Linked DNA regions of Homo sapiens: regions 1 and 2 are each linked to region 3. The links are contacts of gene promoters, found by promoter capture Hi-C in human tissues and cell types (Jung and others, 2019). All regions are on one chromosome and are shown on one strand. Each heading gives the region's core, a stretch centred on a gene start or on the middle of the fragment in contact. The rest is flanking DNA. Distances are from core to core; before and after follow the strand shown.

Evidence for each region. The method cuts DNA at HindIII sites, captures the fragments that hold promoters and counts their contacts. A contact is called where the count stands out against the background at its distance.
Region 1: a fragment that was not itself captured here is called in contact with the fragment with the promoter of F2RL1 in region 3 in 1 of the 25 tissues and cell types used here (IMR-90 fibroblasts).
Region 2: a contact is called between a fragment that was not itself captured here and the fragment with the promoter of F2RL1 in region 3, in 1 of the 25 tissues and cell types used here (mesenchymal stem cells).

Annotation. Positions count from the first base shown.
Region 1 is chr5:76,625,503-76,628,373 of GRCh38, forward strand. IQGAP2 (IQ motif containing GTPase activating protein 2) reads left to right here. Exons shown (of 36, transcript NM_006633.5): 14 at 1,908-1,998. Among named protein-coding and RNA genes, the nearest start is that of F2RL2, 3.5 kb to the left of the region's middle. The HindIII fragment of the contact is 4,209 bases long and covers 1-2,871 here.
Region 2 is chr5:76,577,301-76,580,000 of GRCh38, forward strand. All of the region lies in intron 5 of IQGAP2 (IQ motif containing GTPase activating protein 2), which reads left to right. Among named protein-coding and RNA genes, the nearest start is that of F2RL2, 45 kb to the right of the region's middle. The HindIII fragment of the contact is 4,937 bases long and covers 1-2,700 here.
Region 3 is chr5:76,817,647-76,820,346 of GRCh38, forward strand. F2RL1 (F2R like trypsin receptor 1) reads left to right here and starts at 1,384. Exons shown (of 2, transcript NM_005242.6): 1 at 1,384-1,618. The coding sequence starts at 1,537. RefSeq lists enhancers at 1,100-1,717, 1,718-2,335 and a silencer at 1,118-1,412. The HindIII fragment of the contact is 2,769 bases long and covers 321-2,700 here.

The DNA of each region.
Region 1 (2,871 bases), core at 81-2,580, 190 kb before region 3:
CCCATCCATTCTTGAAAGAAATGGAAAATCTTGCTGATGCTTCCCTTGTAGTCTGCCGCATAGCTAGAGGTGATTGTGGAAGCAGGCACCAACACTTCCCCAGAGGTCTCCTTTAGCCCAGATGTTGCACGATGAAATAACAGATAGTTTATCTCATTTTCAGAGCCCTTTCCACATGCATTATCTCACGTTAACCTCTGAGGAAAATAGTGTTAGAAGCCTGCCAGAGGAACCAGTGACTATTTCCTCTCCTTCCTGCCCCCATCCATCTTAAGTTTTAAATGACGGAGTCGGTGCCAGATCCATTACCTTTCATTCATCACAGTCTTGACTTAGGATTTAGAACACGACACTTATTCCTACACATAGGTAAAATGTTCCCATTTGTTAAATGTCACATGTTTCCTGAAAATATCTCTGCTGATAATTATTTACTTGCCATCTCAGAAAAGATTTTATAAAACACAATTGCTACCTGGAAGTTCCACTTAATATCTGTCAGGGCTGCTTTTGTAGCAGGACCATCAGAATCAACCCAAAGTTAAATAGGAATATTTACCTATAATAGGAATAATGCAATACATTTTCATTGCTGCTGTTGCTTCCTTTCTAAAGCTATCTTTAACTACTTAGTCTTTGCTCCCCCTGCAACTTGACACCTTTACCATAGGTTAACCCTTTCTCACCTATGTCTGGATCATGTGTCTGCAGTATATATTGCCCTGATCACATTGTATTATAATTCTTTTTCTTTTTTTTCTTCTTTTCTTTTTTTTTTTTTTTTTTTGTGAGACAGAGTCTCACTCTGTCCCAAGGCTGGAGTTCAGTGGCCTGACCTTGGCTTACTGCAACCTCCACCCACCAGGTTCAAGCAATCCTCCCGCCTTCCTCCCAAGTAGCTGGGACTACAGGCATGCACCACCACTCCTGGCTAATTTTTGTATTTTTAGTAGAGATGAGGTTTCACCATGTTGGCCAGGCTGGTCTCGAACTCCTGACCTCAAGTGGTCCACCACCCTCAGCCTCTCAAAGTGCTGGGATTACAGGTGTAAGCCACCATGCCCAGCTATATGTCTTGACACATCTGTCTCTTACACTACATTGTTAGGTCCTTGAGGACAATCACCATGTTGTTGTTTGTTTTTAATTTTTGTCTCTGTGTCTGATAAATATCGACGATCCCTGTGTTTCTCTCAAATTAAAAATATCCCATGGTACCCTGGGACACCTTGACACTTAGTTTGGGAACCACAATAATTGATTGAGGGAGAGAGTGTTTGACTAGGGTAGCCCGGGAAGACTTTTTGGAGTAGGTAGCATTTGAGTTGAGACCTGAATGGTAAGAAAAAGCCAACAGCCACACAGTGAGGGTAGAGTATTGTGGTCTGAAAGAGACTCGTGTGAAGGTCTAGAACAGGAAGGGGGAAGTAAACGGGTGTGAGGTGCAGCCAGAGAGGCAGTAGGCAGGGCCATGCCGTTGGAGCCCCGCCATCCCTGAGAAGGCACCCTGTGTTTCCTTCTAACTGCCGGGGGAAGCCTTTGGGGAAGCTTTAAGTAGAGGAGTGGTGCACTGAGCTATCTATTTTGAAGGGATCCTCTGGGCCCTCTGTAGAGGGCCACTGTGGTGAGGGCAAGCTTAGATGCAGCAGAAGCTGCTAGGGGGCTGATGCAGCTGTCCAGTTGGGAGATGATGGGGGGCTGGACTAAAGAGTGGTGGGGAAGAAGGAGGAAGTGGTCGGGTTTGGGGTCTGCTTCATTAGGAGTGTGTACAGTATATGGCAGAGCTGGATAGTTGCTGATTAAGAATTTGTGGGAATTATGATTAAATGGCTCCTCAAAAGCAGTTATTAATTCTGTTTCCTCATCATTCACTCTTCTTTCTTTTTATTCTGTGACATTGTCCCCAGGACTCTGAGAGTGTTTCCAAAGTGCTTTGGCTGGATGAGATACAGCAAGCCGTCGATGATGCCAACGTGGACAAGGACAGAGCAAAACAATGTAAGCCCTCACCTCCTTTGCTCTTGAAACTTGCCTTTTTGGATTTGGTTATGTGCCTGAAGTCATGTGATTTTTAATTTCTGAAAGATTTGGATTCTTACCAAGTTTTAGTTCTTGGACACATAATTATACCGAAATTAGTTGGTTGCCCTATTGTCAGTGATTTGACTCTATCTCCAACAAAATGTAACAATGTTGCTGAACAAAATCCAGAAGGTAAAAAATAGTTTTTAAGCTCTCAAATTGTATAATTGAATAAAATTCTTTTTTTCTCTTGATTTTTAGAGAACTAGACCATTTCTACTTAATAAATGCCTTTTTCTCCTTTCCATGGCCTTTATAGTTACCAGGGTTTTCCACAGAAACAGAACCAATAGGAGACCTATGGAGTTGGCTAGCTGATCATGGTGCAACTAGAAGTGAAATAGACTGGCAGTCTACTCAATTCTTACTTAATCTGTACAACTGGATGAGTTTTGGGTCAAGCAAACAGAAGTCTACCTTGAATCATAAAAATAGTCATGGACCCTCAATCAGTTCCCAGAATGGGGCCAGTTTACAAACCCAGAACCCCTCAAATGAAGGGAAGGCCAGGCCCCTTGAGGAAAAACTCAGCTACACTACCAAAAATTTATACTGTTAGTCTTTCTTCCACCCCTCCCCCAAAGGGACCTATGGCCTTTTACCAGGGTGACTGTACTTAGGAGAAAGTACATAATCAGACTTTTGGGAATTAGTGGACACTTGCTCTGAACTGACACTAATTCCAAGAGGCCCAAAACATAACTGTGGTCCACCAGTCAATGTAGGGGTTTGTGGAGGTCAGGTGATGAATAGAATATTAGCTCAGATCCATCTCACAGTGGGTCCCTA
Region 2 (2,700 bases), core at 7-2,506, 240 kb before region 3:
GTTTTAACAATGGCTTGAATAGCTTGGTAAACAAAGAAAAAACAACTTTTTGTTTATTATTACCAATTGTATACAAATATTGATGTGATATTTTCCAGGACTGTGTTTTTCAGTTATTCATCATAGACATCTCCATTACTTTTACTCATCCTGGAGGGGATTCCTGTTGGGTCATGTCATTCACCAGATCTGATCTTAAGTAGGATATTTTATCTTCAAAAGCAATATTTATTTAGTAAATAGCATTCTCCTCGCTTTTCTTTGTTCTAAATTATTGTATAGCTGCCTCTCACTATGGAGCCGAGAAGTCCCAAGTGTATCTTGCAGCTTTTTCCACCAAAACTTGTTCCTGCTATGATTTAAAATGCAGTCAGTCACTCAAAGGAGGCTGATATTCTGCTTTGTTGTGCAAGACACATTTGAAAGCTGAGGAACAATCCTCTAATAAATACAGTGGGTTTGATAAATACTCTTGCTGCATAGTTAGAAATGATGATGGAAATGAACTAACATGTCTTCAGCTTTTATATCCTGGCTGCAAATACAGCACTGCTGCTGTATTTGAGAGTTGTTATTACCTGGTAGAGTAATTAGGCAGGTCAGAGATTCTGATTATAACTCAGAAGCCAGCAAGGAAGTTTCCCTAGGAAGTTAAGCTTGCCAGGCGCTGCCTTCTTCCTGCCCCAGCCTGTGGGCCTGACTTGATCTAAAAAGTTAGCTCTTAGCCCTGACCAAACTTGTCTCCTATTCCCTGTCATCTTGATTTGGGCTTAACAACCTAACTTCTGGGTGCTTATGCTTGCTTCCTGTTTGTATCTGTGTTCCCCTTTGCTGCCTGCCCCTCACCTTATCATTTTATTTCTGATCCCAGTCTCGTGTCCTACCACTCACCAATCCCTGTGTCAGTTTAGCTTGGTGTTCTCAAGCCAGACTCCATGAACATTACCACAGCAGCAAAGGGAGGAAATTCTCAAGCTTCACCTAATGTAGACAGACTCACCTTAGCGGTGGATGGCATCTTTTTTTTTTTTGAGATGGAGTCTCACTCTGTCACCAGGCTAGAGTGCAGTGGTGCAATCTCAGCTCACTGCAACCTCCACCTTCCGGGTTCAGGTGATTCTCCTGCCTCAGCCTCCTGAGTAGCTGGGACTACAGGCACGCACTACTATGCCCAGCTAATTTTTTGTATTTTTAGTAGAGACGGGGTTTCACCATGTTGGCCAGGATGGTCTTGATCTCTTGACCTCGTGATCTGCCTGCCTCAGCTTCCCAGTGTGCTGGGATTACAGGCATCAGCCACCACGCCCGGCCACATCATTCTTTTTCTAAAGAAATGTTTGTCTTTTTCTCATTTTTTCAAAAGTAATGTATGCTCATTGTGGAAAAAATTGGAAAATCCAGGAAGAATGTTAAAGAAAAAGCTAAAATACCCACTATCTCAACACCAAGTAAAAACCACTGTAACTATTTTGATATCTTTGAACTTAAAGTGTATACTGCGTATGGCATGTTTTACTTTTGTGGCTTCTTTTGGAATGTTATAAAGCCTCTGCCTTGAAAAGGAACCAGTTTAAGAGTGAGAGCCTTACTAACTAGTTACTATACTAATTTTTAAAAAATATCTGGAGGCCTTTTACGTAAGGGTAAGAACACTTTTTTGACATGTTGTTTAGTGCCCACCTTATTAAAGATGTATAATAAATGATATTAAACAACTGTTACTTGTTTAAACAGTCATAAAAGTGAGTTCCTTGAAAGAGTTGGAATAATTTAGTAGAAATGATGTTTTGAGTACTTCAGATACCTTAAAGAGCAGGTGAAATGCCCAGGTACGTTATTACAAACTTACTACACTGGAACCTATTCTGTAAGACCCATACTACAAGTTTCACTCATTTTGTTTATTATTTATAACTAGTTTTGAGTTGTCCTTGGCTATTATATTATTTTGATACCTACCCAGAATTGACATAATCTTCGTGGCACCAGAAACAAAAGAATACCCTTTCAAACCTGCCATGATTACAGATCTGGGTTTCGGATGGATCACTTGTGAGTCAGAACATGGCGCAACTTTGGGTTCTTCTCCCATGGCGAGTCAGACCCTGGCCACAGGCATCAGGCTAAACTTTCTTTGTTTAAAAAAAAAAAAAAAAAATCAGACCGCATTTAAGTACCCGGCTTTCAGGTAGGTCTTTATTTACAATCTGGTCCCCACCCCTGCCCCCCTTCCCCATTACCCTGAAATAATTTACTTTCTTAAGTCTCACTTGACCAGCATTGTATAATCCATTGTCCTGTCATAATGATGTATTGGCCTGATCCATTAACATTATTAAAAGCTTATGTATGCCTTTTAAATATTTTTTTTTTAATTAGTTGGGCTTTCTAGAGGTTTTCATCCCCTGGGAGACAAGGGATTGACTGTACCCAGTGATCCTTAGGCTTTTGGGCTGATTTATCATCTCAGATCATGTTTCTAGTCCTGCCTCCACTTAGTTAGTGGATGTGACCACCAGTGCTGGACCCTCTTTCTACCCGGTGTTTCTGTCACCACCTATGCTCCTTGGTTCTTCCTTATCTTGGGGCACTTCCTTTGTTTTCTGGGACTATTTAGTTTACTCAAAGTTCTTGGTCTTTATTCTTTCATGTAGTATAAATAGTATAAAAATATCTATATATAAACAAATATAGGCCAGG
Region 3 (2,700 bases), core at 134-2,633:
TTATACATTGAGCTGAAATTAAACCCCACTGTGGCTTCCACCAATTTTTGCTCTCTGGAGCAACTCAAAACACATCTAAATCCTCTTCTACAAGCGAATCCTTTAAATATTTGAAAATACCTATGTCTCTCTTCTGTGCTCTTCTGGTACCAATAGTTTAAATGGGTAACAGTAGACTTTGTTTTATTCAATCTTTTAAAAAGCAAATAAAAAGTAAGACATGCTGGGTGCGGTGGCTCACGCCTGTAATCGCAGCACTTTGGGAGGCGGAGGTGGGCTGATCACGAGGTCAGGAGTTCGAGACTAGCCAGACCAACATGGTGAAACCCCGCCTCTACTAAAAATACAAAAATTAGCCAGATGTGGTGCACGCCTGTAACTCCAGCTACTCGGGAGGCTGCGGCCAGAGAATTGCTTGAACCCAGGAGACAAAGTTTGCAGTGAGCCGAGATCACGCCACTGCACTCCAGCCTGGGAGACAGAGCGAGACTCCGTCTCAAAAACAAAAAGTAAGACATTACCAATATGATGCCAACCCTCATGCACTCATCCCCAACCCCACACTTCTCTTCTCCCACCCCTTCTATCTGCTTTTGTATTTATTTAGCCTATGGGATCCCAATGCAGAGGAGCCCTGGTGGACGCATTTATAGTGCAGCGATGAATAGAAGACAGTGATAGTCTTATACTGGAGTTGAAATGTGATAAACATTTATACACTGTGTTTATAAGTCGTGTAACTCTGGCCAATTTATCTGGTCTTTCTAAGCTCACTTTCCTCGTCTGTAAAATGGGAAGAATAATCATACTTATTGCGCTGGTTGTTATGGGGATTAAGCAAGATAATTCTCTAAAGCTTTGGCACTTGGCGCTGAAAGTAGCCATTCCATGTCTTCTTTCCCGCCCCGCCTCTTGTGCTCCCCACCGCTTTCGTGATGTCCGCAGTTGCCCACCTGCCTCTACAATAAAAAACGCATCCCTCCTCCTGCAGGGTCCACCGCACCGGGAAGCCCTGTCTGTATCAGTTACCAACCACAATTGCAGTGAGTACGAATCGTGGCTTTCCCACAGTCAGGAAAGGCAAGGGAGACCGACGACCCGCTTCTCTAGGAGTAAGTAAAGATTAAAGGTAGTTCGCGGTATAGCCTAGGCAGGGATTAACCCGTGGTCCCAGCGCTCCTGCTATTTGCATTCCAAAGCAGACACCTCATGCGCTCAACCCCGCCCGCAGGCGGCTCCCGCAGTCTAAGGGACCTGGCGCGAGTCCGGGAAGCGGAGGGCGCAGCTGCGCAGGGAAGGGGGCCGGGGGCGGGACCAGGGCGCGCGTTCCGGTCCCGGGGCGTGGCCTCCCGCAGGTGAGTACGCTGCTCCTTCGGTTTCCCTGAAACCTAACCCGCCCTGGGGAGGCGCGCAGCAGAGGCTCCGATTCGGGGCAGGTGAGAGGCTGACTTTCTCTCGGTGCGTCCAGTGGAGCTCTGAGTTTCGAATCGGCGGCGGCGGATTCCCCGCGCGCCCGGCGTCGGGGCTTCCAGGAGGATGCGGAGCCCCAGCGCGGCGTGGCTGCTGGGGGCCGCCATCCTGCTAGCAGCCTCTCTCTCCTGCAGTGGCACCATCCAAGGTGAGAAACCTGGCCAAGGAGGGCTCTTATCTCTGAGGAGCTGGGGTCCTGGGCACGCTGGGCAGACGGTGGGATCCGGGCAGGTGTGCGAAGGCTGTTCTGCTGCCGGCACCCATCTCTACGAATCCCTTAGCCTCCCCTTGGTGGCTTTGATGTGAGGTCTCTGCGCCAAGGAGGCACCCAGGTGGGACATGCGGGAGCAGCTGAAGTCAGCGGAGCCGGGCAGAGGCAGAGATTTCCCCAAAGACCCCACTTCCCGTAGAGGCTGTCATGCTGGGCACCTCCAGGCCCCAGCGTGGGTTCGGGGAAAGGGAGGGAAGGAAGGAGTAGCTGTGTCTAAAGGGTACGCAGAGGACCTAGTCCCCTCCCCGGGCTTGGTTGCTTTGTAAACACTAAGTCATTAAGAGCTTTTTGCCAACTCCGGAGACTTCCTCCGCTGGCCCCGCGGGGCCGGTGGGGTTAGCGAGCTGATTGCGCAGGGCAGGGCGGAGTGGGTGGGAACCCGCGGCCCGGGAGCCTTCTAGGTTGTTTTTTGCGTCCCTCTCCAACTGCTGGAAGCCTTTCTTCGGGTTCTGGCCCCTGCGTTCGAGACCCACCCGGGTCCCGCTGCTCCTGGCACCCACAGTGGAAGGCCCGGGGTATGAAAGTCAGGGCCGGTCCCTGATGGGTTCTGGTGGTAATGAGCGCTCAGGCCCGTTGGGCGCCACGAGGATTTACGAGCGGAACTTTTTGGACCCTGCCTTATATTTGACCAGTTGACCCTCTGGGCCTGGGGTTCCGGGACTTTCCTAGTGTGCCACCCGGAGCGGCCACTGGCTGCCACCCAGGTCTGCAGGCCAGAGGCTGGCTGGCCTGGGAACAGAGCAGCACTTGCGCCCGGCCGTCGCGTTCCTTGGATGTGCTGCTCCGGGTGTGCTCGAACTTGTATTGCTGGGAGTGTGTTCTTCCGGGCCCAGCAGGCCTCGCTGTGGCCGTGGGGGATGTTTGACCTGCGATCGCGCCACTGTGATCCTAACCGAGGCCCCTCTGTTTGGGGCAGCCTGGGTAGCAAAGGGAGCTTTTAATTTCCCTCAGAAATGCGC